Linked DNA regions of Homo sapiens: region 1 is linked to region 2. Evidence: promoter capture Hi-C in 16 types of primary human blood cells and fetal thymus (Javierre and others, 2016). All regions are on one chromosome and are shown on one strand. Each heading gives the region's core, a stretch centred on a gene start or on the middle of the fragment in contact. The rest is flanking DNA. Distances are from core to core; before and after follow the strand shown.

The links. Contacts are between HindIII fragments. The CHiCAGO score rates a contact against its expected background, and 5 or more counts as called.
Region 1: a contact is called between a fragment that was not itself captured here and the fragment with the promoter of STYX in region 2, in 1 of 17 cell types (neutrophils). The highest score is 8.8, in neutrophils.

The regions. Positions count from the first base shown.
Region 1 is chr14:49,626,954-49,631,818 of GRCh38, forward strand. DNAAF2 (dynein axonemal assembly factor 2) reads right to left here. Exons shown (of 3, transcript NM_018139.3): 2 at 1,059-1,202. Among named protein-coding and RNA genes, the nearest start is that of DNAAF2, 5.9 kb to the right of the region's middle. RefSeq lists an enhancer at 4,695-4,804. The HindIII fragment of the contact is 7,948 bases long and covers 1-4,865 here.
Region 2 is chr14:52,727,868-52,732,222 of GRCh38, forward strand. STYX (serine/threonine/tyrosine interacting protein) reads left to right here and starts at 2,299. Exons shown (of 11, transcript NM_145251.4): 1 at 2,299-2,664. The coding sequence starts at 2,608. PSMC6 (proteasome 26S subunit, ATPase 6) reads left to right here. Exons shown (of 14, transcript NM_002806.5): 14 at 1-723. RefSeq lists silencers at 1,984-2,443, 2,514-2,593. The HindIII fragment of the contact is 7,384 bases long and covers 1-4,355 here.

The sequences.
Region 1 (4,865 bases), core at 825-3,324, 3.1 Mb before region 2:
TGCCATGACGCCCGGCTAATTTTTATATTTTTAGTACAGACGGGGTTTCACTGTTGGCCAGGCTAGTCTCGAACTCCTGACCTCGGGTGATCCGCCTGCCTCGGTCTCCCAAAGTGCTGGGATTACAGGTGTGAGCCACTGCACCCAGCCTACTGCCAGTCATTTTTTAACAATGTAAACCTGGCACTAATATCCTGATTATATCCTTTCACAACAATAATCCATACTTTTCAACATGGTCTACAAAACTATTTAACAGTTATAAGCACATTGTTGAATTTCTTAAATTTTCTTGAATTCCTCTAATTTTTCAGAGCCGCCCTTCTAATACATATGTCTGTCGATTGTGGTAGTTACTAAATCATTTGCATCTTCAATACTGAAGACTATAAAAATGACCAAAATTAAGATTGAATTAGAAAGAACGTACAAATTGTATAACATAGTTCTCATGGTTTGAGAGTCAAAAAAGATTGTATGTCCCTGGACTAGTACTCAAACTTCCTAAGTGTTAGTTTCTCTTTGTTCCTCATTGTAGGGTTATTTTGGGATTAAATAATGTGAAAATGAATAGCAAAGTGTTTAGCACATAATACATACACAGACAAAAGGCTTTTCTTGGCTGGGCGCGGTGGCTCATGCCTGTAATCCTAGCACTTTGGGAGGCCGAGGCGGGTGGATCATGAGGTCAGGAGATCGAGACCATCCTGGCTAACACGGTGACACCCAATCTCTACTAAAAATACAAAAAATTAGCCAGGCATGGTAGCATGCTCCTGTAGTCCCAGCTACTTGGGAGGCTGAGGCAGGAGAATCGCTTGAACCCAGGAGGCGGAGGTTGCAGTGAGATGAGATCGCGCTACTGCACTTCAGCCTGGGTGACAGAGGGAGACTCCATCTCAAAAAAAAAAAAAAGAAAAACTTTTCTTCTCTTAACATCACTCTGCCCAACCATTATGTAAATTTTGTTTAAAGTTATGATATTAAGAAATCAATAATTTGTTAGGTTTTAACTCTGTGCTTCATTACTCCTCTATAGAGCCCATCAACTTCCTTACCTTTGCATTAATTTGAATCTTATTATCAGTAACTTGAAGAACTTCAATTAATGGTGGGGTCAAGGACATAGACTGTTTGAATGGAGAGCTCAGGACCTCTTCAAGAAACTCATTAACATTTTCTTCATTGACAAATAACCTTTCCTAAAATAAAAAGGGAAAAAATATTCTGCCTAATAAGTCCCACTTGACAACAGTTGTATCTCAAAGCAGCTCACAAAAATTCTCACATTGTTCAGGGTTACACTTTTTAAAATGTTTATTTTAATGTTATTCCTATGAGCTGTCTTAGAAAAATTTAAGTTTGGTATTGTACAGAGCAATAAGAGTTGTACTGAGAACAAACATAAACGTATAGAAAAAGAACCTAAAAGAAAGAGGTCTTGGTACTTTTTCTGTCTATTAAACCTGACCTTTTAGTATTTTTCTTTCTTTTTTTGTTTCTTTTGTTTTGTTTTTTTGAGACATAGTCTCACTCTGTTGCCCAGGCTGGAGTGCAGTGGTGCAATCTCGGCTCACTGCAACCTCCGCCTCCCAGGTTCAAGCAATTCTCCTGCCCCAGACTACCGAGTAGCTGGGATTACAGGCGACTGCCACCATGCCGGACTAATTTTTGTATTTTTGGTAGAGATGGGGTTTTACCATGTTGGCCAGACTGGTCTTGAACTCCTGACCTCAAGCTATCCACCTGCCCTGGCCTCCCAAAGGGCTGGGATTACAGGTGTGAGCAACCACAGCTGGCCTCTTTTAGTATTTCAGAAGAATAACATCATCTCTAGGGCTATAAATGGGATCCCAGATACAAAATATAATTCAGCTTTAAAACATTTCCTAATGAGGTGGCTAAGAAATATACATGAAAAGATCTATTCAAATTTTGTGTGACCTTTTAGTTCTTGGGCAGGTAAGAGCCAATTACAGTATTTTATTTCAAATAAGTGGTGTGTTTTTTTGTTTGATTTTGTTTTTGAGACAGAGTCTTGCTCTGTCTCCCAGGCTGGAGTGCAGTGGCATAATCACGGCTCGCTGCAGCCTTGACCTCCCAGGCTCAAGTGATCCTCCCGCCTCAGCCTCTACAGTAGCTGGGACCACAGAACATGCCACCACTCTCGGCTAAGTTTTGCATTTTTTTGTAGAGACAGGGTTTTGCCCTGTTGCACAGGCTGGCCTCAAACTTCTGCACTCAAGTGATCCACCTGCTTTGGCCTCCCAAAGTGCTGGGATTACAGGCGTGAGCCACCACCACACCCAGCCCCCGCCCCCCTTTTTTTCTTTTTTTTGCCTTGAGACAGGGTCTCACTTTGTTGCCCAGGCTGGAATGCAGTCGCACACTCATAGCCCCCTGCAGCCTTGACCTCCCTGGCTCAAGCAATCCTCCACCTGTGCCCCCAAGTGCCTGGGTACCTGGGACTACAGGTGCATGCCATAATGCCCAGCTAATTTTTACATTTTTGGGGCCTGGTGTGGCAGCTAACGCCTGTAATTCCAGCACTTTGGGAGGCCAAGGTGGGTGGATCACTTCAGGTCAGGAATTCGAGACCAGCCTGGCCAACATAGTGAAACCCTGTCTCTACTAAAACTGCAATCACGTGAACCCGTGAGGCGGAGATTGCAGTGAGTCCAGCCTGGGCGACAGAGTGAGACTCTGTCTCAAAAAAAAAAATTTGACATTTTTTGTAGATACAGGTCTCACTTTGTTGTCCAGGCTGGTCTCCAACTCCTGGATTCAAGCTGTCCTCCTACCTTGGCCTACCAAAGTGCTGGGATTACGGGCGTGAGCCACTGCACCCAGCCAAGTGTATTATATTTTTAAGCACTGGGATACTCCAGCGTAACATTAGCAAACTGTATAGTTATTAAAAGAATGAAGTAGAGAGCATATATTCAGGGCATTTTGAATCTATGCTCCAGAGAAAAAGTAAATTATGAAAAAAATTAGGCTGGGCACAGTGGCTCATGCTTATAATTCCAGCACTTTAGGAGGCCAAGGCAGGTGGATTGTTTGAGCCCAGAAGTTCGAGACCAGCCTAGGCAACATGGCAAAACTCATCTCTACAAAAAATACAAAAATTAGCCGGGAGTGGTAGCATGCACCTGTGGTCCTAGCTACTCCAGAGGCTAAGGTGGGATGATCGCTTGAGTCTGGGAGGTTGAGGCTGCAGTGAGCCATGATCGCACCACTGCACTCCAGCCTGGGTGAGACAGAGCGAGACTCTGTCTCCCAAATAAATAAATAAATAAATAAATAATGAGGTAGATTTCAAGATGCTGACATGAAAAGATTTCTAAACTATTACTAGAAAATGCAAAAATCACCTTTTACCTGAATCCCAAACACAAAGCAGTTTGTTCATGTCAAGTGAATACAGGTGTATAGTTAGGGTGTGGGGAGAATAACCATATTAACCATATTTTAAATTAATTTATAAAAGCAGTTCATTGTTGCCCCAAATAAAAATGTTTTCCTCTGTAGTTTTATATAAGCAAATTTTGTAATTACAAAATAAACACAGCTCATTATTTGGTCCAAATAGGTGGAAAATATCAGAAAGAAACAAGTTTCAAGTTTCTTGAACTTGGGAACATATATTCAGGGCAACTTGAATATGTGTTTCCCAGGTTGCAGTCCTCTATTTTGGCCCAAATAAACTCTCTCTCCACACACACACACACACACACACACACACACATAAACTCTCTACACACACACACACACACACAAACTCTCTACACACACACACACACTTTTTTTTTTTTTGAGAAAGAGTCTCACTCTGTCACCAGGCTGGAGTACAACTGCGTGATCTCAGCTCACTGCAACCTCCACCTCCCGGGTTCAAGCAATTCTCCTGCCTCAGCCTCCCAAGTAGCTGGGACTGCAGGCGTGCACCACCACGCCCAGCTAATTTTTGTATTTTTAGTAGAGACAGGGTTTCACCTTGTTGGCCAGGATGGTCTCAATCTCCTGACCTCGTGATCTGCCTGCTTCAGTCTCCCAAAGTTCCGGGGCTACAGGTGTGAGCCACCACGCCTGGCTACGTATTTTTCTTCCATTAAACAGTATTTAAAATCGTGAAAACCTACCAAACAAAAGTGAACCTTGGGAATAGAAAAATTTTACATTTAGAGTAACTGGCTTTGCTATTATTTGAAGATCCAGAATAACACAGTGTTACAGAAACATCCCCATCGAAAGCATTTCTAAGGTTCATGCCTCTGGGAAAAGACATCATCTTTGACTCCTTGCAAATAATACACCAAATATTTTAATTTTTAGTTATCCGAAGGAATATATAGTGGACATGGTTATGATTAAAATACAGAAGATTTGCAGCCGGGCGCGGTGGCTCATGCCTGTAATCCCAGCACTTTGGGAGGCCGAGGCGGGTGGATCACGAGGTCAGGAGATCAAGACCATCCTGGCTAACACGGTGAAACCCCATCTCTATTAAAAATACAAAAAATTAGCCTGGCGTGGTGGCAGGTGCCTGTAGGCCCAGCTACTCGGGAGGCTGAGGCAGGAGAATGGCGTGAACCCGGGAGGTGGAGCTTGCAGTGAGTGAGCCGCCCCACTGCACTCCAGTCTGGGCGACGGTGCAAGACTCCATCTCAAAAAACAACCAGAAGATTTGCATAAACTTGCCTTCTCAGTCTAATGACTGATTAAATGACTAATGAACTGAAAAAGTTACTGACCTCAGAGGCTCTGAAGATTTAGGAAAATTGTCAGTAAACACTGAAAACTTCAATACATATATTTAGTATTTATTTGTAAAGTTCTGACCTTGAAAGCCACATAACAGTCTC
Region 2 (4,355 bases), core at 1,049-3,548:
TTTTGTAAAATATTGAAAGTGGTTTGAGATAGTGGTATAAGAAAGCATTTCTTATGACTTATTTTGTATCATTTGTTTTCCTCATCTAAAAAGTTGAATAAAATCTGTTTGATTCAGTTCTCCTACATATATATTCTTGTCTTTTCTGAGTATATTTACTGTGGTCCTTTAGGTTCTTTAGCAAGTAAACTATTTGATAACCCAGATGGATTGTGGATTTTTGAATATTATTTTAAAATAGTACACATACTTAATGTTCATAAGATCATCTTCTTAAATAAAACATGGATGTGTGGGTATGTCTGTACTCCTCCTTTCAGAAAGTGTTTACATATTCTTCATCTACTGTGATTAAGCTCATTGTTGGTTAATTGAAAATATACATGCACATCCATAACTTTTTAAAGAGTATGATTCAACGTAATATTTGCTAATATGTGACTGGGTTTTCTTGGTTTATGTAAGACGATAGGTCCCTGTTGAGGATGTGGAGGTCTGGACCCTCTTCCAGGAAAAATTCTAACATACAATTTTGCGTATACTATAATTTCAGGAAATTTATTGTTTCCCAAGCTCATCCAAGGACTCTTTAGGTATGTATGGATACCTGGCTAAGAGTGTATGATGTAGGGGATGTAGGAGTGTCAGAAATGTTCAAAACATGATTTCTGTTACCTATACATGATTCTTATATCATCTGGCAATAAAAGCTATAACAAAGTACACAAAGGAATCATCATTGGGCATCAATAATTATTAAAGATGCTGGTGAAAAGAAAAGACAACTTCAGTTTCATAAACACTAAAGAACCAAAAATACATGACCTAGCTAATTATACAATAATTCTTCAAATTAAAAACTTCCTAGCAGGATATTATGTGCCTTTTTATAATTTTAGAAGATGAACAGTTAAAATAGAAAATGGAGTGGTCAAGTTAGCCATCTCATACTCAAATTATTGTACAGTTCTATTTCTATGTGTTGGCAGTGCATTTTATGTGACAAAAAGTAGAATGTAGGGGGAGGTTTAAGTCAAATATCTATGTGATCTTTTCACTTATAATTTGCATTTAGTTAAGGAGTGACTATCTTGCCTTTTACCTTTGTGCTGGCGGTGGTTTTTTAAAGAATCAATTTGGTGTACAAATCCTTTCTTTCTTTTTTTATTTTTGATTTTTTTTGAGATGGAGTTTCGCTCTTGTTGCCCAGGCTGTAGTGCCATTGCACTATCTCAGCTCATTGCAACCTCCGCCTCCCGGATTTAAGCGGTTCTCCTGCCTCAGCCTTCTAAGTAGCTGCGATTACTGGCATGCGCCACCACACCCAGCTAATTTTTGTATTTTTAGTAGAGACGGGGTTTCTCCATGTTGGTCAGGCTGGTCTCAAACTCCCGACCTCAGGTGATCCACACGCCTCAGCCGCCCAAAGTGCTGGGATTACAGGCGTGAGCCTCCGCGCCCGGCCCAAATCTTTTCACCATGGGTTTACAGGCATAACGCCACCACACCCAGGGAATTTTAAAATTGTTTTTTAGAGAGGGGGGTCTTACTATTTTGCTCAGGCTGGCAAACTCCTTTTAAAAGATATTGAAAGCCATCTGGTTTATTATTTTTATTTCAAAATATAATAATGGAAGAAATTTTACAGTATTATATACAATTTACTGAGTCAGCTATCAGTTCCTTTTTCTGATTTTTTTCTAGTTGCCATTCTTGATATTTTCTAGGTAATCTAAACTGAGTTGTATTTTCAAGTACTCTTAAAATACTTTAAAAAATTTTAAATTGAGCCGTTTAATTCTTTGCTTAAAGGTGATGGGTATTTTATTTTCTGTATGGCACCACGTGATTTTAAATTGAACTCTTCATTTATTAGTCATTTGGTTATAAACTCAGCATAGATTGCGCAGAATTTTGAGAGGGGAGAAACTATAGCTTTCCTTTCGGATGCCACTGGTGGGTAGCCTGTTTTGCCTGTTTGTTCTTATGTTAAAGAAGGGCTCTACGTCCTGTCTGGAAAGGGCGGAGCTGGCTCGGACCGCCCCACTGCCTTTCCCAGGACCTTCACTCGTCCTGTCCCACCGCAGCCCCGCCTCCTCCACGCCGGGTGAGCTGTGGCCTAGCAGCATCCGAGGCTCCGCCCCCCCCACCCCCAAGCGTCTGCGCTCTAGCGAAGGGGCGGAGCAGGGCGGTGGCGCGCTGACACCTGGCGGCGGCGGAGGGCGGGCAGAAGGCGAGCGTGGGCTGGGATTGGCTGAGGCGACGCGGGTGGAGGGGGCGGGAAGGAGGCGGGGAGACGGTTGTCGGGCTGGTTCCTGTGCTGGATCCTGGGCGGCCTGAGGGGTACGGAGACTCTGGGGGAGGGAGACGGCAGCGGCATGGCGGCCGGGTGTAAGACGCCCGACCCTCCTCTTCCCTGTCTTCGCCGCCGCCGCTGCTGGAGTCACTGGGACCCTGTAGTCTGCGTGTGTTAGTTGTAATCCCGCCGCCCTCCTGTCAGCCCTCCGCTCCGCCGGCCCTCCTTCCTTCCGCCGCCGCAGCCAGCCCGAGGGTCGGCCGGCTGTGTAACACTCTCCCACCCCACCCACCAGCCCGCGGGCCAGCACCATGGAGGACGTGAAGCTGGAGTTCCCTTCCCTTCCACAGTGCAAGGAAGACGCCGAGGTGAGTCGCTCCCGTGGCTGCCACGCACAGGCCTCTCCCTGTGGCTCCGGCCGAGGGGCGACCCCAGTCCCCAACCGTCTTAGCCGCCACCTGTACGGGCGCCCTGCCTCCTAAGGGCGTCCCGGGACCTCTGAAGCCGAGCGGTCGGCTCCAATCCCCACTGAGTTGCTCGTCCTCTCCAGACCCCGCGGAGGGGCAGCGTCTGGTGTACTTACATTTGAGAAGAGGAAAAGCAATCCCTTAGTCCCTAGGCTTGGCATCCAGGACTGACCTGGAGTAAGGTTCCTCTTTTATTGTCAAAGTAACAAGAGAGCGAAGTTGGTTTAGTCTCCTTTTGAGGAATATCTGTGGTGTAAACGATTCACTTGTGGGACACATGGCCCCACATGTGAAATAGACTCGGCGCCTGAAGTTTGGAAGCGCGCCTTCGAAAAGTTTCCCAAAGTTTTTTGTTTGTTTTTAGACAAAGCTATGACCCGCACAACAAAGTGTCTCAAAGCTAGCTCATCTTAATCTGAGAACTCTTAATCAGAAATCTTGACCTTTGGAGGAAAATTAATATTGAAAGTAAAATACTATATACCTTTTCTCCTGGTTTCTAATTTGTGGCTATTTTTACTCCACCTTAGATCCCTGCCTGCTGTTTCTACTCGGATTTTTTTTCATCTGTTGCTAGTTTAACATTTTACGGCATTGCAGACTACTAAATTAGAATTTTCTGGAGGCTAAATTAACAAGACGAAGATACTCAGCTATACTTTAGTAGGATTAAGAAAGAAAATCTAACATCGCTAGTTAAAAATACCTTTAAAGTAGTTGGGAAAAATAAAGCCCTATTTTTAGGAGACCATTCAATTTATTCCGAATATTTATTCTATTGAATATCTTCATTGGAGGTTCACTTTTTTTTTTTTTTTTTTTTTGAGACGGAGTCTTGCTCTGTCGCCAGGCTGGAGTGCAATGTGGCGCGATCTCGGCTCACTGCAACCTCCGCCTTCCGGGTTCAAGCGATTCTCCTGCCTCAGCCTCCTGAGTAGCTGGAACTACAGGCGCGCACCACCACGCCCAGCTAATTTTTGTGTTTTTAGGGGAGACGGGTTTCACCATTTTGGCCAGGGTGGTCTCGATCTCCTGACCTTGTGATCCGCCCGACTCGGCCTCCCAAAGTGCTGAAATTGCAGGTATGAGCCACCGCGCCCGGCCTAGGTTCACATTTTTGTTTGGAGGGCTCTCTTGTGGTATTGATGCTTGACAATTACATTTGTTTTAAGAGTAGAGACTTTGTTTGTGACTATCACTGTTGCAAAATGTAGTGCAGTGGTGTGATCTCGGTTCACTGCAGTCTCGAACTCCCATGCTCAAGCCATCCTTTCACCTCAGCCTCTGGAGTAGCTGGGACCATGCCGGGCTAATTTTTCTTTTTTTTTTTTTTTGTAGCGATGGGTTTTTTCTCCAGGCTGGTCTCGAACTCTTGGCCTCAAGATCCTCCCGCCTTGTCCTCCGAAAGTGTTGGGATTACAGGTGTGAGCCACTGCACCTGGCCCAAGAATATACTCATGGTTTTTTTTTTTTTTTTTTTTTTGACACAGAGTTTCACTCTTGTTGCCCCAGGCTGGAGTGCAGTGGCGCTGTCTCAGCCCACCGCAGCCTCTGCCTCGGGTCCCGGTTCAAACAGTTCTCCTGCCTAAGCC